Linked DNA regions of Homo sapiens: region 1 is linked to region 2. The links are contacts of gene promoters, found by promoter capture Hi-C in blood cells and fetal thymus (Javierre and others, 2016). All regions are on one chromosome and are shown on one strand. Each heading gives the region's core, a stretch centred on a gene start or on the middle of the fragment in contact. The rest is flanking DNA. Distances are from core to core; before and after follow the strand shown. Region 1 has its middle 81 kb from the start of LINC00323. Region 2 holds the start of PCP4 (Purkinje cell protein 4).

Evidence for each region. The method cuts DNA at HindIII sites, captures the fragments that hold promoters and counts their contacts. A CHiCAGO score of 5 or more calls a contact.
Region 1: a fragment that was not itself captured here is called in contact with the fragment with the promoter of PCP4 in region 2 in 1 of 17 cell types (M2 macrophages); the score reaches 7.1 in M2 macrophages.

The regions. Positions count from the first base shown.
Region 1 is chr21:41,063,453-41,070,055 of GRCh38, forward strand. No RefSeq gene overlaps it. Among named protein-coding and RNA genes, the nearest start is that of LINC00323, 81 kb to the right of the region's middle. The HindIII fragment of the contact is 9,228 bases long and covers 1-6,603 here.
Region 2 is chr21:39,865,970-39,872,288 of GRCh38, forward strand. PCP4 (Purkinje cell protein 4) reads left to right here and starts at 1,469. Exons shown (of 3, transcript NM_006198.3): 1 at 1,469-1,541. The coding sequence starts at 1,533. RefSeq lists a silencer at 3,367-3,520. The HindIII fragment of the contact is 4,692 bases long and covers 1-3,055 here.

The sequences.
Region 1 (6,603 bases), core at 1,414-3,913, 1.2 Mb after region 2:
ATTTGAAAGTATGGTTGGGGAAACTAGCATCCAAACCATTTGTATTAGAATTATAGTATTTTCCACTTAAAGAAGTGAGACAAGTTAATTGCATAGTTACCATAAAATAAACTACATGGTAATTACACAGAAACTCCTTTAGAAACCGTAGTAATTACACCGAACTGAAGCCTTCTAAAATAGACCAAGAGTTACCAAGTTCACACACAATGGAAAGATGTTTAACCTGTTCGCCGACTACTTGATGTGAACAGAGCACGGCCAGTGACTTTTGATGCCCGCTTCTGGAGATAATGACTTTTAAATACAGATGTCTTTCTAGAAATGGTCCCTAGCACAATATTTCCTTTCAACAAATGGGAGAAAAAGCTCAGTTACCCACTGCCAGGCAGCAGGAAAGTTGACAGTAATTTGCCGTCTGAGGGAGGTGACAGTCCTAAAAGGGAAATATTAACAGTCTCGATTTTAGAAAGGAGCTTTTGGTTGCTAGCTCACATTTACATACTGTATGTCGAATCTGAAAGGAAGCTATGTTCGAATAGAAATGGCTCTGCTGAGAAGTGAATGGTACAGTATATTTTGTATAGAAAAAGCAATTTTCTTGGGAATTAAAAGGCCTGTTACGCAGTCCCTGCCCAAAAGGCTCAAAACAATCACCTTTTGTCATTCTGTTTTACACAAGCCAAATTATTCAGCTGGCAAAGTAAAAGGGGAGGGAGATAAAATACACGGATGAGGGAGATTGTCATCCCCCAAGAAACTTGGTAGAACGCAAAGGTCTGGGAAATAGGCTGTAGGAATCCTGGGCTCTTAGCATGCGGTGTTGTTTGGAGGTGACTAGCTAACTGTTAGGAGTGATTTTATCCAAAAGGTGGAAGTCTGTCTCCTGGTGTCCTTAAGTCATGGGGATTAAGGTTCCGGAAGAAGCAATTCCAGGGTTTCTAATGGTCCCTGGAGTTTCTCGGCACAGAGCTCAGCCTCCTGCTGCCCTCCCCAAGGCGAGACGGGGCTCAACAGGCCTGTCTACAAACGGCCTTGCCGCTGCTGCTCTGCTCCTTGCAGGGCCTCCACACTGGCCGCAGCCCAGGATCCAGATGACATCAGGACTAGATTCCGAATCAGCTGCCAAGGCTGTTGTGAATTTAATTTCATAGACATTGTTCTGCTAAGTTGATGCCAGGACAGATGATGGGTATGAGAGCAAGAAATGAGATTAGCGATGAGCAAAACCAGACGAAGGGGAAAAGAGAAATTTCTAATTGCACATAACTTAAACCTCATTTGCGTTCCACTCTGACGCAGCCAGGCCAACTCCAAACCCACAGAGATGTGTTTAGTGCAAACATACTTCTGTTAAACCCTGACCTGAGTCCTCGCTGTCTGTTACACACAAACACAAAGTGTCGTTGTGTCTAGAGGGCTGTGGGCATCTCTGCTAAGAGGTGCAATCATTAAAGGCAGAGAACTGTCTCCCACTTCATTTTCCTAGCTCCATAAACATTTGTTGACTGAATAAATGAGTGCCTGGGTCTGAGCAGAGATCTACTAGAAGTCACCACAGAATGTCACAACCTGGAGCCAAAAGACTGCATGATCTCAACTCGGCCTGGTGGCTCACGCCTGTAATCGTAGCACTTTGGGAGGTTGGACGCACAGGGGATAACAGGTCCCACTGAGACACAGTGGCCATCTAGTCCAGGCCTCTGTCAATGGGTGGCCTCCTGCTGTCTGGGCAAAGACCTGACCTGTGTGGACGTGAGAGACCGAGGTTTATGCACAGGCTCATGGTGGAGAGACTAAAACAAGCACAGCCCAGACAAAGTCAGCGGTGATGCTGGGAGGAACTCCAAGATCGTCTGCTGAGGTGGGCAGATCACTTGAGGTCAGGAGTTCAAGACCAACCTGGTCAACATGGTGAAACCCTGTCTCTACTAAAAGTACAAAAATAAGCTGGGCATGGTGGTGTGTGTAGTCCCAGCTACTCGGGAGGCTGAGCCAGGAGGATTGCTTGAGCCTGGGAGGCAGAAGTTGCTGTGAGCTAAGATTGCACCACTGCACTCCAGCCTGGGTGACAGAGTGAGACCGTCTCAAAAAAAAAAAAAAAAAAACGAAGACTGTGTGATCTGTTAAGGGAAAGACAGCTGCAAAGTTGTCTTGCTCCTAAATGTATGACAATCAAAAAAACCAGAGTTGTTACAATTAGTTAGAATCCTGAGATAAGGAGCATTTTAGAGTTGTAATCTTGCAGAGTCATGCAGTGACTGGCAGCGATAAGAATTCAGCATTCCAGATGTTTTTTCAACACTTCTGTCCACCACGCTGCTTAGGGCTTCATTCACAATTGCTCCATTTCAACATGCCATGTGTCTGAAGTCTATGCAGTCATCATCCCTCAGAAAGACTCGTGGTTCTGCATGTGTCTAGGATAGACTGACACTAACTTGACTTGCCTATTACTGTTCTAGAGTGGTTGCTAGTTAAAATGATTGCCATGAAACTTCTCAAGATAGACTGCCAGGGAAACATGTTACATCAACCATGTTCTTGAGTAAGAATGTAAATGAATACATTCCCTATTCCAGGGACATATGAGGTAGACCTTAGCCCTAACACAGCAGGGGTTTTGCACCAGGAAAGCCACAGAGCAGACAGACGGTCTTGGAGTTCCTCCCAGCATCACCTCGGACTTTGTCTGGGCCGTGCTTGCTTTAGTCTCTCCGCCATGAGCCTGTGCGTAAACCTCGGTCTCTCACATCCACAGAGGTCAGGTCTTTGCCCAGACAGCAGGAGGCAACCCATCGACAGAGGCCTGGACCACATGGTCACCGTGTCTCAGCGGGACCTGTTATCCCCTGTGCATCCAACCAGATCCCATAAGAAGGCAGCCTTCTCACCCAGACCTAGATTGGACCAAGTGTGTGGACTCTACTTGATACACTGAAATGTTCAATGTATTTTAAACAACTAATCTCAATATGTTATTGAATTCCCAAGAACCTCTTTGGTGAAATTGATTTTGTAAGCCTCACACGCCCTGGGGGTGCCCCGCCACCCCATTTAGAAGGAACAGGGTGGCTGGTGGGTGATGCAGGGGTCTTGGCCACACCTGTGTCTTTGTCTTGTCATTGGAAAAGTGGAGATGATGGCAGAGCCTCCCTCTCAGGCTCAGTGCAAGGACTAATGAGAGAAAATATGCATCCAGTGAAGAAATAAGTGCCCAACCAATGTTACCTCTTATCACTATGAACTGCAGCTGAGGAATCTAAGTTCCGGGGACGGGGCCAAAAACACAGCAGGAGGATCACGGGGCTAAGAAGAAGATTCCTACCTGCCAAATCTCAGGGCCGTGGGGAAGTGCTAGCAGTTCACAAAGCAACTCAGGGCCCTGCTCAGAAGTGAGTTTTTTCCTTTTCCCCCTGGAGGAATAAGCAGATTTTAGGTGATATACAAAGACAATCACATTTTGGAAAGCAAACCCCGGGACATTGTGCAAATATGCACACACATTCATATACACATACAACACACACACACAACACACACACATACATACACACACAACACACACATACACACACAACACACACACATACATACACACATACAACACACACAACACACACAAATACATATAACACACACACATACATACACATAAACAACACACAATACACCCACACACACATACATACACACATACAACACACACAACACACACATACACATGTATACAGAGGTACGTTTTACATGTTTATATTTTCTAATGTAAAGGCAACATCAACTGTAGAAAATTTGAAAAATATTGAAATGTATGACAATAATTAGAAGCTACTCATAATCGCATAATCTCAACATCAGGAAAATTCGCAGTCGACATTCTGGGAGTTTTCCCCTAAACACATGGATATTTTGGGACAATAGCCCTATCCATACATCTTTGTATAATATCCTTCTTTTGTTGATGTGCCACTTCAAGAATTTACTCGGTTTTACAAGACAAAATTTTAAAGACAGAGAAAATCTTCCCATGCTACCATATGTATTTTTCCTCTTTAGGGGTTTTATAGTCTGACACACAAAAGTCACCATTCAGAACCCTAAGTGCATGGGGTCAGTCCCTCTCAGCCACGTCGAGACTTTAATACCAGAGACATGGACAGGCGATACCTCCTCCCCAGGACCAAGGACTGAGTGATCTTGATGGTGAAGAGGTGACTGAATTCTTCAAATGGGCACTGCATACAATCAGGTCCACAGGGATGCAGGATGGGCAGGCATCCCATCTGTGCCCAGTCTGGGGGCAGTGGAGCCAAGTTGGCTACCTGAAAGCATCAACCTTGATGGCAGGAGGCTCAGTGTCCCCACAGAGATGCAGTCCCGGTTTGGGCTCTCCAGGAGGCAGGCTCCATCTTTCCCGTGTCTGCCCAGAAATCTCTGCTCCTATGTCACCCGACATTCTGTTGCTTGGTAACTAGAGCACCTAATTATTCTACTAGGAGGTCAAAGAAATGCCAGCAACCCCATTACATAGACCCAAGAAAGTCAGACATAAGGCATTCATTTGCATAAGAGAACTTTATTTTTCAGCTAGAGATAGGAAAGAAAGAGACTCCAAAGTTCAGTGTATTTTTGCTAATACGAAAGCAAGATGACCTGGAAAATAAAGTGCAGTACAAAAAAAAAGTGACGAAAAGCAAGTTAGAAGAGGTTTTTGGTGTTTGATTTTTGGTTTTTGTTTTTAATTCCTGAAATTGTTCATAGACAAGGAGTAGTGAATGGTCAAGGAGGGAAAGTACTTTTTCATCATTGAGAAGAGAAAATGCTTTTTAAAAATCTGTTAGATAATGAGTTGTTTTCTAGTAAAGATTTCTTAAAGATCATGGGGTTTTTTTGGTTTGAATTTTGTTTTTTTGTCATTTTTGTTTTTGAGTGGAGTTTTCTTTTTAACTAATTCTAGGTTATCAGGTTTAAAAATAATAGAGTTGTTTTTTACGTTTTTTGTTGACAATATCTGTGTGTTTTTATCTGACTCTCTGTGGCTATAATTGCCAGAGTTTCATTTCCTAAAGAATTCTTCCTTTTACTCTTGGTTGTTTGCTAAAAATATCCCAGCTGCCTGTAGACAATGGGCATGGCTGCCGCCTAGCCAGCCCCCTGCCAGTGGAGTGTTCTGCTATTCATAGCTAGGTCCTCTTCAGACACGTGAAGACTGGAGGTCCTGATTTCTATGTCTTCTCTAAGTAATGCCATGAGTGACTGCAGGGGCTTTGGAGAAACATTTCGCGTTCCCAGCCATACCCATCTCTAGATAGATATGACTCGCTCCACACCATTACAGAGTCGAGAAATGCTCTCTCATTTCCTGATTGTCTCCCAGTCAAATTTCACACCAACGTTGCAGCACACCATGGGCCTCTGCCTGCCTTGAGTGGTATTGGATACCCCAGAACCGCCCATCCCGTTTAAAATACCCCAAAAATGCTGCTAACTGCCCCCTGGAACCAGAAAAGCTCGGAAGCAAAGAACGAGGCGGGCTGGGAGAGAGGGGAGAAAGATTGTTCCTTGAGAATTCCGTTCACCGATGAAAACTGGCGAAAAAATTAAACAGCTCCCATGTTGCTGGGCTCCCGCGTTCCTTACGTCACCCGGCACTCTTGCTTGGTGCGTGCTGGCTGACTTGCTCTCCGCACCTGCTCTGGACCAGCGCTCCTCCCGGGTCTGCGCATCCGCGGGGAGCGGGAGGCCCGGAGCTGCAAGGGTCGGTCCGCTCGCGCCCTCTGCTGGCATTGAGGAGTCACGACCTGGTCGAACCGGCCACTTGGACCTGAGTTGCTCGGTGTTGCCCTCAGGGCCATTTCACCCAAAACCTCCTGTTCATTTTGAAGGCTTATCATAGCCCAGACATATCCCCTATGGCTGAAAGAATGCAGGAAATAATTAATTGGAAAGCACATGTGAAAAATAACATACACAGGATGGTGGGGCTGCACCATCAATGTGAATGCACTTAATGCCACTAAACCGTACACTTGAAAATGGTTAAAAAGGTAAATTGTAGGGCTGGGCATGGTGACTCATGCCTGTAATCCCAACACTTTGGGAGGCTGAGGCGGGCGGATCACTTAAGGTCAGGAGTTCGAGACCAGCCTGGTCAACAGGGTGACACCCCATCTCTACTAAAAATACAAAAATTAGCTGGGCATGGTCGCGGGTGCCTGTAACCCTAACTACTAGGGAGACTGAGGCAAGAGAATCACTTGAACCCAGGAGGCAGAGGTTGCAGGGAGCTGAGATCATACCACCACACTCAAGCCTGGGCGACAGAGCGAGACTTTGTCTCAAAAAAAGAAAAAAAGTAAATTGTATGTTGTGTACATTTTACCACAATTATATATATACACATATGATGCCAATGAGGGCATGTGAAAAGAAGAGCAATTGTGCTGACACATCTAATGTGCTGCTCCCAATCCACTTGAAGCCTTCTTCTTTCCCCTGGCCACGGAGAAGTCACAGTCGGTGCCCAGGGCTGGTTCCTGGGTAGGGAGGGTGATGGGGTACAGAAAAGGTAGCCCAGGGCCTCAGGGGGGGCCTGGGCAGAGT
Region 2 (6,319 bases), core at 219-2,718:
ACGTGGGCCTTCCCAAGCGTGGCATTGGGGGCAAGGAGGAGGAGGGGAGTGAGAGAAGGAGGATGCTGTCTTCATTAGTTTGCAAATGATTTGTGTGGTCAGGATATGTAAATAAATAATTTATATACATATAAAAGAAACGAATATAACACACATATTTTATATAATATATATAATGTTCATTTCTGTCGCTCTGTGAAATATAGGTTATTTTATAATAACTCATGTATGAGACTCTGTCTTGCTGGCTGGTGTTCCCACGCTGTGGGCGAGGGTGCTGACCAGCTGGTGCTCCTGGCCAAGGCCTCTGAGGGCAGCCTGTGCTCGCCGGTGCCCATTTGGGGGCGCATGGCCTTCTGCTTGCTGTCCAAGGTGGACCTGAGGATGTGGTCGCATCGGTGACCTGGGCATGTAAGGAGGGCAGTCCAGGTCAGAGGGCGTGGGGCTGCTGAGCTGAGGAGAGAGGGTTGATGGGCTGGAGTCTGGTGGCCTGCTCTGCACAGGGAGATGAGGGGTGCTGGGGACGGGTGGCAAGACGCTTCAATCTTCTCGCCAGACCCTCTCAGTCCTGTACCGGGACTGGCAGAGTAACAGATGTGAATGTGCCTTCAGTCTGCACAACGCTTTTTTGGGACAGTTGAGGGCCCACTCTGATGCCTTGAAGACTCTTCAGAGCCTCACGATGTTGGGACTGAACAAAGGATGGAACCTCTTCCCGGAAAAGCTGAACAGGACTAAGGCAAGGAGACCTTCAACCAGGCCAGGGCCAATGCCCAGGCTCCTTCCTGGCCCCACTGTGGTTGTGAGGAGGGCACATCAGCAAGGCTGCTGGAGCCGCTCGCCTCCTTTGTTGAGGTCGTGGGGACCCATTCCCATGTCCCAGTCCATCTACTCTTATCCTTCCAGCTCAGGGTACAAGCAGGGCGACAGATATGGGATAGGGGAGAGACAGCAGAGATATTAAAGTCCTTGGGCTGAGTTTTGTGTTATAAAGGGCAAGGGAAACACAGCTCCTGGGAAAACCTGAAAGTGCGTGAGCGGGCACGCAGGTATTTTCAGAGCTCCTCTTCCCTTAGAAAAACAATCCTTCCCATTGACATTTGAAAGGTATTTTACATGCATGTAAATCTTGCACTCATTGAAAAACGCACAATGGCATCCCTGTGATGATCTTTGAAACTTTAGCTTTTACTTTTTACTTTTTTTTTTTTTTTAAAAGAGACAGGGTCTCGTTCTGCTGCCCAGGCTGGAGTGTATTACTTTTTAAAGAAATCGAGCATTTCCTTCCATCCTGGCGGAATTTGGAGCAGCGACCTAACGTGCCGTTCTCTTTTGCACCACTAGGTGGCCCCTGGTGCTCTCAGATGTCGGCCAGGCTTGCAGACAGGTGAATGCATCTCATTGGCTCCAGGGAGGCATGATGCCACCGGGCAGCTCTTTTTAAGAGAAAAGCCAGAACCGGTGGAGCAGCGACCCCTGAGCAGTGTTCTCTGTGCTGAGCGGCGGGACTGAGCTGTTGAGTTAGAGCCAACATGAGTGAGGTGAGTGATGCTTCGACCTGGAGAGGGAAACTTAGGAGTGAGAAGGGACCTCGGCTGAAGGATTAGTCTCAGGAAATGTGAGGGACTTAGCAGTGCTGAGGAACAAATTAATCCTGTAATTATTTGCTTGGAGAACTGACAGGATTAATCTCTTGGTTTGAATGGTAAGTGCAGAAATTGGTTAAGTTTGCAACTTCTACAATTAGCCTGAGGAGGAGAAAGGTTTGCTTTCTGATTGAATGGTGACTTTGAAAAGTGCTTTGGGTTTTAGAGCTCAGAAGAGAAAGCCAAATGTTTTATTCTCTTACGAAGATGCGTGTCTTTGCATGATTCCCGCGGTGATACCTTTCAGAATGTGAGTGGGCAGGTGGTCATCTGGTGAATGCAAGCCATGGAAGGGAAGGGGACAAGGTGGGGAAAGGGCTGGCCGTTGGGTGGCATTTCATGGCTCAGTTGTACAAACTACCTCTGCAGTTAATCAGAGCACCAGGGAAAGAAATGCAAAAAGTAGTAGGAACTGGGAAACATCCGTGTGTATAGATCTGTGGCTCTAAGACCGGAGGCGGCCCCGGCAGAAGAAGAGCTACAATTTTGCAAATCCAAAGTCACTTCTCTAAACTTGTTTATACAGAATGTGTTTTACTGGGGCCAACTGACAGCACGTTTGTTTTTCTAAAATCATCTTCTCCTTTTTTCTCATCTATGAAGCAGATTAGCGGTGGTACAACACCATTCTCTAATTCAACTCAATAACCGAGCCAAATGCATCTTCATTTCCTCTTGGTTGGCACTTAAATAATTACTTTTAAAGATCTTTTATCTTCTCTGTCTCTTTTTGACAGATGGATGATTCTTTTCTTGGAAGTCTAGGATAAAATTAACAACTTCAGAAATAAAATGCCTCCTCCCTGCTTTTATCTCTCTGATGGGTGATTTTTGATGTAAACATGACAAGAAGAAGAGCAAAGCACTATAAAACTTAGAAATGGGGTTTAGGACAAAGCCAGGGGTTTGAGGCAGGGAGAGACCAACTGTGGGGTGGAAGATGGGAATTCTCCCACCACCACAATCAATGGTACCTGTAACAGCAGCTAACACTTGCCTAATGGTCTGTGTGCCGACAGTGTCAGGCTGTCTCTGCATCTGTCACCTTCTTTGAACCTCTCAACAACTCCGTGCAGTGGGCACCATTATTATTCCCAATTGACAGATGAGGACACTGAGGCACAGAGATGGGAACTAAGTGGTTTGAGGTCACCAGCTAAAGAACAGTAGAGCCAAGACTTGGGCTGCAATGCTGGGTGGTTGACTGCCGGGTGAATCTTGATGTCTAAATGTGTATGGAATTTGCTGAACAGAGGGGATGGCAGAGGTTGGAGGAGGAGAGGGGAGGTGAAGAGAAAGAAAGAAAGGAGCTGGGGCTCTGAAATAGAGATGGAATGATGAGGATGAGACCTCCATTTCCCACATGCTAGGAGGAGGGGCTTTCTGCTGGACTCTACAGATATTTCAGAAGCTTCTGTGTCCACATCAGCTCACCTTGCTTGCAACAAGAAGGGATGGCTGCGTGGAGTGGTTTTTCTTTATATACAACTTATCCAATAAGAGTTTCCTATAGAAGAAGGACTTAGAAAGCAGCACAGCACTGAGGGGTGGCCTCTCGGGTCAAGTCAGCTACCCTGGGATTCTGGCTCAGTCATGCCGTCACTTGCTGAGGCTTCTGGCCAGCAAGGTGCTCATGAGCTCTCCAGGATGCTCAGCTCTGCTGGGCTCACTCAACTGTGCGGGTCTCCAGGGAGAAAGCGCGTGTTCCAGAGCTCACCTGTGATTAGGGTCACAGCCTGGTTCCTGCTGAACGGGTAATCAGGGCAGCTCTGTAGTCACCGCCCCGCCATGGCGCTTATCAGACACATTTGCAGGTTCTTGCAGGAGCTCTTGCCTTAGTTCCTTTAATGTGGATAAAAGCACACAAGGGGCACATCCCACTTTTCTGCCTCCCCTTGCTGCTCACAAAACCCCTCCCAGCTCTCTGCTCCTCATCCTCCCTCCTGCCCTCTTCTCCCCCTCACATCACATGAGGCCTCCTCCCTCTGACCATCAGCATGGCCACCGCTCCTGGCTGATCTCCAAGTTCCTGGGCATGTGCTCCTTGGAGAGCAGGAATTTGTCCTTTGACTAAACCTCAAATCTGCTTAAAATCTTTAGTAAAGTGCAACAGAAGCTCCTTTCTGGGTAGAGAACTCGATTCCCCCTTCATGGCACCCCTCAAGGGGTTTCTTTGGTTGGATGAATTAAATGTGGCTCCTAGTTTTAATAACTCTCAGGCAGAAATGGCTTTCAGATCATCATTTACTTGCATGTGTGACTAATTACCAAAGAAAGCCAGAGCAATGGATTTTGCCAGACTTTCCTTGACCTTAGGATTGATTGGGGTCTGGTGGGCCAATAGTGCCTGCTGCAGTGCCAGGGCTGAGTGCCTGCTGCAGAGGCTCCGGAGCTCATTAGCTGCTTACCCAGGCCAGTGGGCAAGCCTGCTGGCTGGAGAGGACCCCAAAGTGTCATATACTCCCCGGGGCCTGCTCTGCACTTCCAGGCCTCCCCGCCTTTAAGGGAAAGGTGGAGTGGCAAAGGGAGCCTCGAACTGGCTTTAAACTGGGCAGCTTTACAACAAGACGTCTTCTTTATTTCCTGTAACAACACTTTTTAGGGGAAATGACATGTGATAGAAAAGAACAGCTCAGGAAAGTAAAGTACAGCGAGGAAAGTAAAGTCCAAATTTAGGGTAATGTGAGAGAGAGGAGGTGGTTTGTGGGGGTGTCTGATTTACATTTTGGTATTAAAATATGTCAGATGTGCCTGGAGCAATCTATGAGATGAATTGGAAGAGAATGTAGCAGGGATCAGAATGCAGGCTTAAGTCTATCAGCTGGATCAGAAATCTTAACCATCACAGCCTCAGTTTACAAGGTGCATTCTTTCTCCCTCATCGTACTCACCCAGGCACAAGAAAAATGACTACCTTTGTTCAGCCACTTCATAGAGCTTTTGAAAAAAGAGTTCCTGGAATAATGACAGTCAGTCCCACGTTCTCCTTTAGGTGTCTATTTTTAAGTTGCTTTTCAAAAGAACTCATTTAGGAGAGCTAGGGGCAAGGTTGGAAGGCATAAGGACAAACATCTGAGCGTGAATTTAAAAACGTGACGCCCTTGCCCTGTTTAGGGTGCGGGTTGGAGACGTTCCAGGTCACGTAATCAAATGACAGCTATTAATTGGACTTGAGACCCCTTTGGGAAAAGCCTCTTCGTAACCCCGAGTTTCACGGTCATGGGCTGGGCTTTTTTCTTGCTTTGGCGTGGATGGGAAAGTGCAACTCAGTACAAGGGCTGTGGCTCTTTCTTTCGTCTAGACATTGGCCGCAGGGCAAGGCGATGCCCATCAAAGGCATGGTTTGAAAAACATCAAGGACATTTAAGGGTAAATCTTTAGATACACATGTCTGTTCTTAGCACCCAAACAGAATCCATGTCGAACTTAATGTATACGTTAAAACGTACAATAATCTCTAAAGGAAGAAGAAAGCTGTAAATGGCATTTTTCTTGACAGAGATTGCAAACGGGAGGCTACATGCAGTTAACTCGTGAGGTGAGGACATAGAAAAAACATGAATTAAAAAAATGTTTTGCCACTGATTTTAAAATATCATACATACAACAGTGGTTTGGGGCTTACATAGTTGACTCTCACGATTGCCCAGTGGAGGGACTAAGGTTAAAACGAAACAGATCCTAAGAAGAGAAAGATTATGGCTTTGAGCTTCTTACAACGTAAGGGTAAACTCAAACAGATGCTAATGGGTGGCTGATTAGATTTGTAAGGAGCTGTATATTTTAGACCAGTTGTTAAGCACAGATTCTGAGGGTGACTGCATAAAATGTGGGTTTTGCAAATGGTCTGCAAAACCCAGCAACAAAGGTCAAATGACAATTCAACTTCTTATGTAATTATAACCCCATTTGAGGGTGTACCTGCAGCAAGGACTCTGACAGATCAAGCAAGATCAGTTTTAGTTTCGTTGGACAACACCATGAAAGATACTCTTTCCTCTAATTGGGGATATTAAGTCCACATAGTCACCAGTTACAATCTGGGTTTGAAGTTCAACTTTTCCTAATAGAGAAGAGGTCAAAATTAAGCAGGAATATGTGTTTCCCAGGGCCGATGATTGTTAAGAGTTGCCATAAAACTTGTTTCCCCAGTCATGCATTCTATGAAGAAATGCTGTGGGGTTAAAAAGTCTCAGGTTTTCTCTTTTGAATTTTAAGAATGACACAATGCAAGATGTATATTTTTTTTTCAAAAAGAAAATAAATGACTCATTATTGATTTTATTAAAGGTTTAGTGAAGTAGTACGATCAAGATGAAAAGAAAACATGTTTTTGTAATGGAAAGTTTCTTAAACTTATGATGAGCACATTCTTTGTGTTATTTATTTACTTATTTATTTGAGATGGAGTCTCTCTCTCTTGCCCAGGCTGGAGTGCAGTAGCGCGATCTTGGCTCACTGCAACCTCTGCCTCCCAGGTTCAAGCAATTCTCCTGTCTCAGCCTCCTGAGTAGCTGGGACTATAGGCTCCTACCACCACGCCCAGCTAATTTTTGTAGTTTTAGTAGAGACAGGGCTTCACCATATTGGTCTGACTGGTCTCGAACTCCTGACCTCAGGTGATCCGCCCGCCTTGGCCTCCCAAAGTGCTGGGATTACAGGTGTGAGCCACC